Regions from separate parts of the Homo sapiens genome. Here regions 1, 3 and 4 are each linked to region 2. Evidence: promoter capture Hi-C in 16 types of primary human blood cells and fetal thymus (Javierre and others, 2016). All regions are on one chromosome and are shown on one strand. The core of a region is centred on a gene start or on the middle of the fragment in contact, and the rest is flanking DNA. Distances in the headings are between cores, read along the strand shown. Region 1 overlaps SLC6A17 (solute carrier family 6 member 17). Region 2 holds the start of PROK1 (prokineticin 1). Region 3 has its middle 10 kb from the start of SLC6A17. Region 4 overlaps SLC6A17 (solute carrier family 6 member 17).

Region 1 (3,115 bases), core at 508-3,007, 290 kb before region 2:
TGCACCTTCGCTCCTGCCTCAAGGAGATTGCTGTTCAGAAAAGGGATCAGGCGTAACGACAACTAGTTGTACCAGACAGCCAAATAGTAAAATAGTGTAAAAGGGTGTTACAAGGAGTGTGCTGAGAAGGGCAGAGCGTTAATGCTCACTCACAGACTCGCAGGAGTTGTCATAGAGGCGAGGCAGGGGACCTAGAAGGCTTCAGCTGTCAGGGGATGGGAAGTGGTTAGTCTAGAGTGAGTGGTGAGTGGGCTGGGAGGAAGTGGAAGCCGAGGCCCGGGAGATAGAGGGGGCCCAAATGCCTGGGAAAGGGCCTTGGGCTCCCTTCAGTAGGCAGTGGGAGTGGGGTGGCGTGGCATTTCTAGAAGATGCCACTGAAGGCAATGTGTAGGATGCCAGCGGGGAAAGTGAGCTGGGAGCCTGCTGTAGGCATCTAGCCAGAGAGCAGGCTTGAACTAGAGCAGAGGGGTGGGAAGAGGACAGAGCTGAGCACGCCTACAGGACTTGCAACACCTGGTGGGGGTGGAGGCAAGAGAGGTCAAGAAGGGTGTGGGGTCCCTGCCTGTGTCCTGGGCCAGCAGCATCCAGGGGCAGCAGCCTCCAAGTCAAGGCCAGGCCCTGTCAGGAGCAGTTTGCCCCAGGTGACTGTCAGAGGTTTTAATAAAACAATTAAAAATAATTTGTGTCTCTGATAATAGTCCGGCCTGTTTTGGGCTCAGTAAAAGCTCAGGGGCTCTGAGGTAATTAGGAGAACAGTTTGGGCCACAGCTGCCTGTCATGAAGAAATCAGGAAGCTGCCAAGCATCCTCTGACTTGGTTTCTACTCACCACCAATTATACCTGAGTTAGATGTTGGCTTTGAGGTCCTGAGTGGGGACCACTTCCACTGATTTCCTCTTCTTGGGGGCTCTTCAGGGTGCCTGTTGGAACACCCTGAAGAGGTGCTTTTTAAGGATGTGCTTGGCCACAGCCACTCTTTCCAGAGCCACAAGACCCAAGGGTAGCAGGATCAGGAGCACGGGGAGGGGCGGGGCAGGGTAGGCACTGTGGTGTCTGTGGTCGTTGTAATTAGGTGACTGCCTGCTTCCCCAAAGATGGTGGCTCCCCCACTCACCTCCCCTGGGGAGTCTAACTTGGAAAATAAATGATTCTCTTTGTCCCTTGAGTTACCTGAACCTTCCCCAGCAAGAAACACCCCAGGCCCAGGAGGTGGGTGCTCAGGGAGCTGCCTTCATCATTACAAAAGTGCCCCTCTTCCCTTCTCCTCCTCCCCGGCTGCTGTGGGGTGGAGGGGCTCCAGGCTTTGTCCTGGTGCCAGGGTGAGAGCAGCCATCCCCCACCACCTTGAGCTTATTGCCGGATGCTGTGCTTGAAAAATTTTCGTGGAGCCCTCACCCCTCTGGCAGGAGATATTTTTACCTGTCTGCCTCCCAGTCACACTATTTTTTCTCCTTTCAAGAAGATTCGCAGTTCACTTGCTCCGACCTCCTTCTCTCACAGGAGCTATTCTGAGCTGCAAGCCACCTCTGTTGCTAAGTGACAAGCTGGCACCAAGGGCCTTCTCGGCACTCGTGCCCCTCTGCGCTGTGCTTTCAGGGATGGAGGCACTCCTTTCAGAGAGTACCTTGCAGCTTCATCATCCGACGTGTTGCTCGTGAAAGCCACTTCACAACCCACCCCAGCTACTAAGGGGGGGATAATTAGAATACGGCTGGGCTGGCTGTCACCACATCTCTACCATGCTCCAGTGGGCTCTCAGCTGATGGAGGGTGGCAGGGCAGACAGAACTTACCTTTCGCATCCATTGTTACAGGTGCCTGGGGCAGGTGGCTTCTTGCTCACACCCATAAGCAGGAGGGACTCTCAACAGATATATGCTAGAGCTGAAGGGGGTCTTGGAGGCCATCCATGCCAACCCATTTTACACACAGGAAAACTGAGATCCGGAGAAGTTAGGGCAATAGTACCAGTTTGCACGGTAGGTTGGTCAGGCCCAGCACCTAGCTGGCCTGCTGATGCCTGGATTATGGCTGGTTCCATGAGATACATGGGTACGGGAAGAGAGGAATCGCCCCTCTCAGGGTCCTTCTCTGATCCTGATGCTTCTCCCAGACAAGGCTTTGGGGTCATTGGCTGGGTACACTTTGGATTCCCAGGCCCTGCCTGCTCTAAAAGCTCACCTTTCACCAGCACATGGCTTCAGGGAACTGGGGGTGGAGCAGGGAGGGTTATTCCAAGTCACTATTTCCACTGGGGTATGAATTGAATGAGAGCTGAAGAAGAGGTACCATTCATGAGCACTTCTTGGGTGCCGGCATGGTTCTAAGACCAGTACAATGTATCCTCCTCACAGTATGGTGAGGTGGGCACCGCTGGCACCCTCCCTTGACACATGAGGAAACTGAAGCTCAGAGAGGCTAGAAAAGTTGCCCAGGCCAGGTGGCTGGCAAGCAGTGAGCTGGGGTTGGAACCCAGGCCATCTTACTCCTGAGCAGGATCACCAACCCATGTTGGTAAAAAAAAAAAAAAAAAAAAAAAATGGTTTTAAGCGGTCTCAAGCTATTCCAAACATGAGGTACATTTTAATAACAATAATGCTAAACTTTTAATACAGGCCGTGTTTTTATTAATAATAATATTGCTGGTCTTTTGGGTCCAAGCTGGTAGCTGCGGGACCTTTGCCTGGCTTCCTTTGACACTGGGGTGTGGTGCATGGTAGGACTTTCTAGGGGGTGCCCTAGGTGGACACCAGTTCTGGAGAAGAAAGTGGGCATTGCTGAGGTGGTGCAGGATGCTTCTCTCCACCCACCTCCACTCCCATGGTCAGCTCTCCTTGGCCTTTCTTGAGAAGAAATGGGATTGATGGGACCAAATATCAATATGGGGACTTACATATTTTTTAAATGCATAAAGGTAAACAATGCAAGGCTTCCAGGCAGTGGCTGCTACCATTTGGGTCCTTTCTGTGTGCCAAGCTCTATGTCAGGCACTCTGTGTGCGGCTGCTCATTGGACCCTCACAGCAGCCCTCCCTGGGAGATGGGAGCCATCATTAAATGCAACCTTTTCACCCATGAGGAGACAGACGCTCACATAATTAAAGTGCCTTGTCCAAG
Region 2 (3,187 bases), core at 353-2,852:
TTACAAATCTGTTTATTTGTCTATTACCCGTCTCCTTGACTATAGTCAAAATTACATGAGGACAGGGTTTTGTTTTGTTCACTGCTATATTCCCAGTGCCAAGAACAGTGTCTTCTATACAGTAGGCTCTCAATAAATATAGTCAATGAATAAATAAATAGATGAATACTCGCAAAATCGTATGATGTAAATGCTATTCTTATCCCATGTTATAGATAGGAAAACTGAGGCTTGGAGAGATTAGCAATATTTTCAAGGTCATGAAGCCATCGATCTGAATCAAAGCATCTGCCTCTGGGGGCTTAGCTCCCAGCTCCCGTGCTAGTTAACCTTCCTCTCTGCACTCATAAATGCCTATCAGCGTTTCAATGTGGAAACCCTAGACCCCTGTGACATTTGATAAGAAAGGTTTTGTGGATGAATCTGCTTGTGAAATACTACAAACTGCATTTCCCACTTGGTGTTTCAAACACTTATTAGCATATGAAAGGCCCTGAAAAGTTCTGCAAAAAACAAGCCGGTTTGTGTTTCCCAAATTTTTGACTGTAGAAGTCTTTTATTTGTTTATTTGTGTATTAACATATTGCAACACATACCTTGGGAAATGTTGGCTTTTATTACTGTGGAGAGAAGGCAGATCATCTGACAAAGCACTGGGAGCTCTCTCTGGGTCGTATGACACAGAGAGGGCTGGGGTCAGGGGCTTCCCTCACAGGCGGAGGGGCCATCCCGAAAGTCAACTTCCCACCAGACTGGCATCTGAGACCACCGTGTTTATACACTCACGGATAAGGCCACTCTCATGCTCACCCCTAAAACTGGAAGGCCAGTGGTGTGGCTCTGGTACCTTTCAGCCACAGCCCATACCAGCTCGGCTCTGCAGGGTACTGAGAGAGTGTGTGCCCTGTATGTTTGCTGGCTTTCTGCCCTTGGGTCATTGTACCAAGGGACACTTGCTGGTGTTCATCCTGAGCCCATGAGAGAGCAAATCCTTATGTGTGTGTCACTTAGGAACATCAGCCCCACAAGTCTGGTCTTTTTTTCCTCACTGTCTTATGGCTCCTCACTATAATTTTAACCTTTTAGAGAAATAAGGATACCACCTCACCCTCTTCTGTCTTCTCAGCTACCTCTGTGTTGAGCCCATGGTAAATGCCTAGATAAGTCTTGGTGTGAGTGAGAGGGAACCAATAATCTTGTATGTTGCATAGTTTGGTGCAGGGAAGCATAAATGGTGATGTTGCAAATCCCTTAATTCATTACCAGAGGCTTTCCTCTGCCCCAAGTAGGATAGAAGGATACCCAGAGGCAGAAAAGAACATTGAGTGAAATATACATAACTGTCTGAATCACTGCGTTCTTGGGAGAGTTAGAGCAACCGTCAAAGCCCCCCAAGTATCCATTTTTATTGGTTTTGATGTTGATTTGATGTTGTTAGAGATTCAGGTCTCATCTTCGCTTCTGAGATCATCTGAGTAACATCGGTGTTGGAGAAGGGAAGAGCAGAGATGAGGCATCCACAGGCAGCCCTGGATCCTGAGTGTAAACATCTGGGAGGAGGCGGGGGATGCAGGAGAGCCTGGCCTCCCCAGCTTGCCAGGCACAAGGCTGAGCGGGAGGAAGCGAGAGGCATCTAAGCAGGCAGTGTTTTGCCTTCACCCCAAGTGACCATGAGAGGTGCCACGCGAGTCTCAATCATGCTCCTCCTAGTAACTGTGTCTGACTGTGCTGTGATCACAGGGGTAAGTCGCCTAACATTCTCTGTGCCTTGGGTTTTGGGAAGATGTCAGGGTCTGCACGGGTTGTGAGCCCAGGAACCATGCAGGAGGCTCTGTTGGCTCAACACAGTGTGAACCAAAGGGAATGGGGAATTATGCATTAAAGGGATTGCATGCGATTTTCAGACTAGTTAGACCTCACTCTACTAAATGGGATCTGCTTTTGAGAAGCTGTGTATGAATCAAATCCTGTTTTCAATGTGTTAGCAGAGCATTGAACATTTTGAAGTTCAGTCCTTTGGTAAAGTGAAGATTCCTATTAAGTAATAAGGAATTCCTTTATAAAGTGGATTGGCAAACCTTAACTTATCTTTTGTGTGAATTTTAATTTTTATTTATGGTCTGATTCACATATTAATATTAATATTAATTTACATAGCATGTTGACTTAATTAAAGGCAGTAAGCTTAATTAAAGGTGGTAAGCTTATAAACTTCTATTGTATAAACTTAACCTCCGCTTAGAAAGGATATCTTTGAAACTCTTTCACTCTGTGCCTGCCTAGTTAGTTCTGAGAGGAATATGGGTGCCACTAACATTCAGCTGAGTGTACCCCAAAGCAAGCATCCAGATAACAAGTAGATATCCAGTCTCGAAGCAGAGAAGCAAAGGTTCAGCATATGGGCACTGTACAATTGGTTCAAAATATTCAGATCATGGTTTTCTCTCGGAAGTTTGCTTTTACCTCAAACCACCTTCAAATAGGGGCACATGATGTGTTATGGTAGCAGGACCATTCTTACTGAAGCAGAAAGCAATGCTGTACCTGAGAGCTTTCCATATAAAATCCACTGGAAGAAAAAGGTCGGGGAAGCAGGGAAACTAACTTTTAGTTCAGCCTCCACCAGCTTTTTACATGGATAGTGGAAATGTAGAGAAATGCCAAACAATTCCTGGAATTGGGTTAATTTTACCATTCACAGAAAGGACAAATTCTTTCTTTTCTCTTTTAAAGGAAAAACACTGAGTTCAAAAGAACAAATATTAAAGGCGAGTCAAATGCTTTTGAGATCCAAAGCAAAAATAAAAATAATTGTGAAGGCAGAATTATACCTAATGAAGTGTTTACACTGTAGGCTGCCCTTCTATGGGGTAGCTTGAAAATCTGGGAGGGCAAGAACAATGGAGAGAAGCCCCGGCTGCTGCGCGGTGAGGGCAGGAGCAGCGTGGTTGGCCTGGATGCCAGGCTTGCCTCACCACCCGTGCCAGCTCCAGCACTGGCCCAGAGTGACAGCAGGGCAGGCAGATCTGAGAGCGGCAGGCAAACATTTTCACGGTGAAAAGCACAATAGAGAGCACTTTTCCCTAGGTGAGGGAAACCCAGGAAAGACAGGTGAGTGGTGAGAACAGGGCAGTAAGGGGAAGTCAGGAACCCCCAGGCTCCCCACATCCTCCATGTCCTGCTGGTG
Region 3 (3,116 bases), core at 201-2,700, 310 kb before region 2:
CTTACTGATTTTCAGGAGGTTTTTGCTCATCAAAGAAACCTGTCCCCCTTCTTTAACAATCACTCAATGAATATTTCTGAACACCTACTATGTGTCAGGACTGTTCTAGGCGCTGGTGATACGGCTTTCATCTAGTTTGCTTTCATCTTCAAACAAATGAACAGGAAAGTGAGTGGAATGCCAGATGGTGATACGTGATTTCAAGAGCAATAAAGCAGGATGAGGCAAAGGGAAAACCAGTGATGATGTCATATTTAGAGAGGTCTCACCACCCATTTCACCCAACATGATAACAATTTTTTCTGTGTTTTCTTTTTCCATAGTATTTTTATGATTTTTAAAAGAATAATTGGACTTTGCAAAAAACAAACTTTTTTGACACAATTGTACATATTTATGAGGTACATAGTGATGTTGTAATACATATAATGTATAGTGATCAGATCAGAGTAATTAGCATATCCATGATCTCAAACACTTATTATTTCTTTGTATTGGGAACATTCAATATCTTTCTTATAGCTATTTGAAATCATATAATATATTATTGTTAACTGTAGCTGTAACTGTAGTGCTATAGACACTAGAGCTTATTTCTCCTATCTAGCTCCTATCCCTCCCTTCTCTCTACCCTTCCCAGCCTCTGGTATCCCCTTTTGCAAAGAACAAACTTCTGACTTTGGTAATCCTTTCTATTGTATGTTTGCTTTCCTATTTGATTATTTTCTACATTCCCTCCTTCTATTTCCTTTGGGTCTATTTTGTAGTTCTTTCCCTGCATTTTTGAGATGGTTGCTTGGTTCATTGATTTCAACGTTTCTTCTTTTCTATCTATTTAAAGCTATAAATATCCCTCTATATACTGCTTTTGATGCATCCCTGTGGCTTAATTTTTTTCTTTTATCAATATTGATACATCTACAATTTATTTTGGTATGAAGAGTAAGGTAAGGAGTCAGACTTACTCTTTTCAAATGACCAAATCAATATCATTGATTAAAAATCCATCTTCTGCTCATTTAAAATATAACCTTTATCATGTTCTAAATGACTGTATCTGAGTTTACTTCTGGACTGTGTGTTCTGCCTCATGTATTTCTCATAACTAAGTCCACATTAATTTATTTTTATTTACTTATTTATTTATTTCTGAGACGGGGTCTCACTCTGTCACCCAGGTTGGAGTGCAGTGGTGCCATCTCTGAGTCCACACTAATTTAAACTTGCAGCTTTGTAATGTGTTTCACCCTCTGGTAGGCTAATTCCTCACCTGACACCCACTAATTCTCCCTTTCCTAATTCCACTGCTTTTTCTTTGTTTCTTTTTCTATATGAGTGTTAGTTTAACTAGCTTGTTTAGTTAAAAAGAAGAAAAGCTTTTGTTATTTTCACTGGGGTCATTTTAGAATTATGGATTAATTCAGAGAGAATTAACATGTTTCTTCTGTTTTGTCTCCCACTCTGAGGACATATAATTTCTTTTCCTATGTTCACACCTTCTTTTGGATCTCTGAGTAGCATTCGGAAGCTTTCTTCACATAGACTTTCTAGAAACCTTTTAAAGTTTATTCCTAAGTATTTTTCTTTTTTGTTGTTGTTGCTATTGTAACTGAACCATTTTTTATATCTTCTTACTACTGGCTGTTGTATATCTGAAGGTGTAGATATTTAATAGGTTAATTTTGTATCCAACCATGTTACTGAATTATCTTGTATAAGTTTTTTAGTTGTAAATTATTTTTTATTTTTATTTTTATTTTTTGAGACGGAGCCTTACTCTAGCCCAGGCTGGAGTGCAGTGGCGTGATCTTGGCTCACTGCAGCTCTACCTCTCGGGTTCAAGCGATTCTCATACCTCAGCCTCCCGAGTAGCTGGGATTACAGACCGCACCACCACACCTGGCTAATTTTTGTGTTTTTAGTAGAAACGGGGATTCACCATGTTGGCCAGATTGATCTTGAACTCCTGACCTCAGGTGATACGCCCACCTCGGCCTCCCAAAGTGCTGGGATTATAGGTGTTAGCCATCGCGCCCAGCCAGTTGTAAATTATTTTTTAAATGAGGCTTTCAGCCTTTAAGGGAAGAATGCACATTATATTTAAAACCCCCAGGGTAAATGGCTATTTAAGGATTCGATGAGCTAATAAAGGTAAGTTGCTTAGAGTAGTGCCTGGCACATCTTCTGAGCTATCGCTAATAGCAACAGTGATAATATTGCCTTGACTGTACAGAGTTTCATCTCATTTAATCTTTACAATGACCCCCATGAGGTTAGAGGACAGATTTTACTTCCATTTTCCAAATAAAGATTCTGAAGGTCACATTCTTTTGACATAGTGATATGTCAAAAGTCACCTGTTAGGCCAGACATGGAGTGGCTTACGCCTGTAATCCCAGCACTTTAGGAGGCCAAGGTAGGCGGATTGCTTGATTCCAGGTGTTTGAGACCAGCCTGGGCAACATGGCAAAACCCCATCTCTACAAAAAATACAAAAAAATCAGCTGGATGTGGTGGTGTGCACCTGTGGTTCCAGCTTCTTGGGAGGCTGAGGTGGGAGGATTGTTTGAATGTGGGAAGTGGAGGTTGCAGTGAGCTGAGATTGCGCCCCTGCACTGCCTGGACGCAGAGTGAGACTCTGTCTCAAGAAAAAAAAAAAAGTCATCTGTCAAGGTAGTGCTTGGGTCAGAACCTGAGTTTTTCTGACTATATACATCACATTGTCTTGAGGAAAAGAAAGAGAGGGGAATCTTTTTGTAAAGTGAAGCGTCCTTTAGAATCACTCGTTCCAAAGGTCTGCTTTGATTTTCACTCTGGATGTTCACACATAGGTATGTTTAGCTGGGGGCACGCCTGCCCTGCTCGATAAGGATTCTATAGAGTCAGATTCTCTAGGGGCAATATGCGGTGCCTCTGAGCTCCAACAAGCCAAAGAGGCACGCTGCCTTTGGAGTTTGGGCAAGGGGGCCTGACCTCTACTTGCGTGTGCCTCTTGGTCCTGTGAAGAGTTGTCCAGTTGTCCCCTTCATCATGGGGCATGGTGGTTCCGAGGCTCCTCTGAGTCATGATGGAGGAAGGTGAGGTGGTGGGCATGGGAAAGGATTTGGAGGCACTTC
Region 4 (3,247 bases), core at 663-3,162, 260 kb before region 2:
TGCCCATTTCTGGAGCATTCTTGAAAAATTATTTTTCAAAAACTCACCCAAGAGATGGGAATTAACACAAGTCCTTTCCCAGTGGAACTATGATTGTTTTCTTCTCCTTTTCTATTCTCCAGATTTCTACTAGGCACAGTACAGGCCCCCATTTCCTTATCCACAATACCAAAATCCAAATAGCCATGAAAAACAAAAATTGGTTTGGTTTGGTTTTGATCCTCCAGAACTCACTTGGAAGCAAAATGACCTGCACAGATGTGAGGCTATTTATAGTCTTTATTGATTCACTTGGTGTGAATATTCATATTTTGCTGCAGAAATACTAACGTGTTTGATTACAGGGTGCTGCCCCAGACCCTGCTGGGGGTGATATGTAATTAAGTAGCATATGCATCACATTACCTTTCTAAAATTAAATTAGAAACAAAAGCTTGTATTCCAAAACCAGTCAGCCCCCAGGGCTTTTAGATAAGGAACCGTGGGCCTGTATTACATTTGTAAAGAAGGTAACATTTCATCTTACTTTAAAAACCAGACATCCGCCTATGCAAGGGGGTGGGCCCCCAGCAGTACAGGACAGCCCTGCCCTGTTTCTCTGGTCACCTGGCTCTCCCATGCTCCGCTGTGGCTATTTTAAACCCTTCCAATCCTTCACACCCTCTGACCTTCCTTCCGGCATACTCATCCCCAGCAGATGATTTTGCCTCCTGCTTTACAGGGAAAACAGAAGCTGCCAAGAAACTCCCTCAGATGACAGAGACAGAAACCGACCATAAAACCTGCCTGCAGCTGCCCCATCCTGTCCTCCCTCCCTCCTCTCTCAAATGAGCAGCCCAAGGGTGGTCCTATGGAGGACAGCTTCCCACCCCATCCCGATCCCTACCCTCCAGCTTTTCAAGACACTCCATTGAAAACAAAAACAAAAAAGAAATCAAGACAACATATAAAAATGCAACCCTTTGTTGATTTCATAGCCTTCTCCGGATACTGCCCTTCTCCTGATCCGAGGCTTGCTTCTCCGAGGACCTGCTTACCCACATTGCCTCCATTTCCTCCCCTCTGCCTCTCTCTTTTCTTCACTTCCCCTGGCTTCTTGCCAGGGAGCAACTCCGAGGAAGCCTCTGAAGCCCCCTGTGGCCTCCTGCGTGGACTCCCTCAGGGTCTTTCACTGGCAGCACTGACCCTTCCTCCTCCAGGCTCTGGGTTTTCCTCTTGCCTCTGCTGCTTCTCCTTCTCTGACTCCCTTTCAGGAGACTCTCCCTCTTCCCTGCATTCAGTGTTGGAGATAGGAGCAGGCTTTTGCTTCTTATCCCTCTGTAACTACAGCCACAGCCTCAGCTCCTGCCAGCACACCTGCTACTCAGAAAGTCTATCTCCAGCTTGTCTCTCTCTGGCTCCAGGCTCATCTGTCCAGCGGACCACTTGGCATTTCATTTTAGATGTCTTAAAGACACATTCAGCTCAACCTTTGTAGAACTAATGTCCTGATCCTCCCTGCCCAACACCATCAACCTGTTCCTCTCCCACTGTCCCCATCTCCACCTGCTCAGGTATGCAGGCCAGAGACATGGCCCTCACCTCGGCCTCTCCCTCTCCAGCATCTCCCATCTCCAGTCCATCCCGAAGGTCTCCTTGGTTTGTCCTGCGAAGATCTCTCCATTGGCACCACCCAGCCCCTTAGCAAAGCCACTGTCCCCTCCAGCCTGGACCCCAGAAGCCGCTTCCTCGAAGGTCTGCTGAATCCACTTATTTCTTTTGGAAATGCACATGATTGTGTCCCCACTTCTTTAAACCCCTCGGTGGCTTCTTGGGTTAGGTGCTTTCTTAGGGTGAAGACAGGATCTGTACAGGCCTTTGATCTAACTTCTCTCCTCTCCCAGCCCTACCTGTGCCACCCCCACCTCGTCCTCACTGCTTCAGCCACCCTGGCACCTTCCATTCCCTTTTACACACCATCCTCTGTCCTATCTCAGGACCTCTGTCCATGCTTCTTCCCGAATGTTCTTCCCTCCCCTTGTGGCCTCGCTTTCATCAGCTTTCAAATGTCAGCTTGAGGACCCCTTCTTCTGGGAAGCCTTGCCTGGCCTCCCAACTTGTTCAGATCCCCTTCTTATGGGCTCTCCAAGCACTGGGTGCCCAGCCTTCACAGCCCTTGTCACATTTGCAATTTAGCATTTGTTCGTGGGATCATTTGACCAATGTGTCTCTCTCCAACTAGAATGTAAACTTGGAGAGCCTGATTGCTTCTATTCCCCATGGCCTCTGCATCGCCTAGCACCAGGCCTGGCCCACAGCAGGTGCTCAGAGATTGATGGATGAGTGGCTACATGTCATTGCCACAGGGAGGCCTTGACACCTTATACCTAATAAGTACACAGGGGTGGGCTGGGGAGAGGGTCTCCTCATAGATGCCAAGGGGCCCTTAGATCCTTAAGGCCTGGGTTCTGGGCTTTCTTGGTGGACTAAAGATGGTTTTACTTATTTTGTGCTGGATGGGGGACCTTAATCTCCCCTGGAGTACACATGCTGTCTGACCAGGCAGTCCTCCTGGGTCTCCATTTGTGCCCAGGCCCTGAAGCTCAAAGGCTCGACTACCATCCCCCACCTCTTTCCCCTCAGCATGGGGGTGCCGCCCTCAGCCTCACTGCTCTGCCAGCGCTCTGAGCTTGCCAACATCTCAGCTGTTGGAGTGCTGCCAGGAGTTGAGACATGCCTAGGAAGCTGCTGAGATGATGGCAGGTGGGCCCTGTGTCCTGGATGTTATTTAGGGCTGTGATATTAAAGACAGCTAAAGTCCAGACGGACCCTAGAGTCCAACACCTCACTGTTCAGGTGAGGACTTACCCACAGGTACTCAGAAGGGGCAGCCGGGCCAGGACCCACACAGGGCTTGTCACCACAGGGAAGTGAACTCTCTGAATTGGCTCCTTGCCTCCTTAGTCTGTCTGGAGTGAGGTCACTTAGGTTCACCTCAGCAGCAAAGGTCACAGGGGAAAATGCTTTAAAGAGTATAGGTGATAGAAAAACTGAGTCAGGAGTTGGTGCTGGGGCCGGGGGCGGGGGCCTGGCCCAGAATATCTATATTTTAGTTATCACTCTGCCCCGACTAACCAGCTCCATTACCTTGAGCAAGTCATTTCATCTTTGGGGTCTCAGTTTACCCTTTAAAAACATGAATAGTAATCCTTGCTTCCTGCACCCCCGCAAAACACAAAACACCCTGTCCTGACGAGGTCAGCCTCAT

What was found. The method cuts DNA at HindIII sites, captures the fragments that hold promoters and counts their contacts. A CHiCAGO score of 5 or more calls a contact.
Region 1: a fragment that was not itself captured here is called in contact with the fragment with the promoter of PROK1 in region 2 in 1 of 17 cell types (naive CD4 T cells); the score reaches 5.0 in naive CD4 T cells.
Region 3: a contact is called between a fragment that was not itself captured here and the fragment with the promoter of PROK1 in region 2, in 3 of 17 cell types (total B cells, endothelial precursors and naive CD4 T cells). The highest score is 6.3, in total B cells.
Region 4: a fragment that was not itself captured here is called in contact with the fragment with the promoter of PROK1 in region 2 in 17 of 17 cell types (naive CD8 T cells, neutrophils, naive CD4 T cells and 14 more); the score reaches 15.2 in naive CD8 T cells.

Annotation. Positions count from the first base shown.
Region 1 is chr1:110,160,504-110,163,618 of GRCh38, forward strand. The region is part of intron 1 of SLC6A17 (solute carrier family 6 member 17); the gene reads left to right. Among named protein-coding and RNA genes, the nearest start is that of SLC6A17-AS1, 6.8 kb to the right of the region's middle. The HindIII fragment of the contact is 4,374 bases long and covers 1-3,115 here.
Region 2 is chr1:110,449,547-110,452,733 of GRCh38, forward strand. PROK1 (prokineticin 1) reads left to right here and starts at 1,603. Exons shown (of 3, transcript NM_032414.3): 1 at 1,603-1,742. The coding sequence starts at 1,671. The HindIII fragment of the contact is 11,265 bases long and covers 1-2,182 here.
Region 3 is chr1:110,138,939-110,142,054 of GRCh38, forward strand. No RefSeq gene overlaps it. Among named protein-coding and RNA genes, the nearest start is that of SLC6A17, 10 kb to the right of the region's middle. The HindIII fragment of the contact is 152 bases long and covers 1,375-1,526 here.
Region 4 is chr1:110,187,782-110,191,028 of GRCh38, forward strand. The region is part of intron 6 of SLC6A17 (solute carrier family 6 member 17); the gene reads left to right. Among named protein-coding and RNA genes, the nearest start is that of SLC6A17-AS1, 21 kb to the left of the region's middle. The HindIII fragment of the contact is 2,962 bases long and covers 432-3,247 here.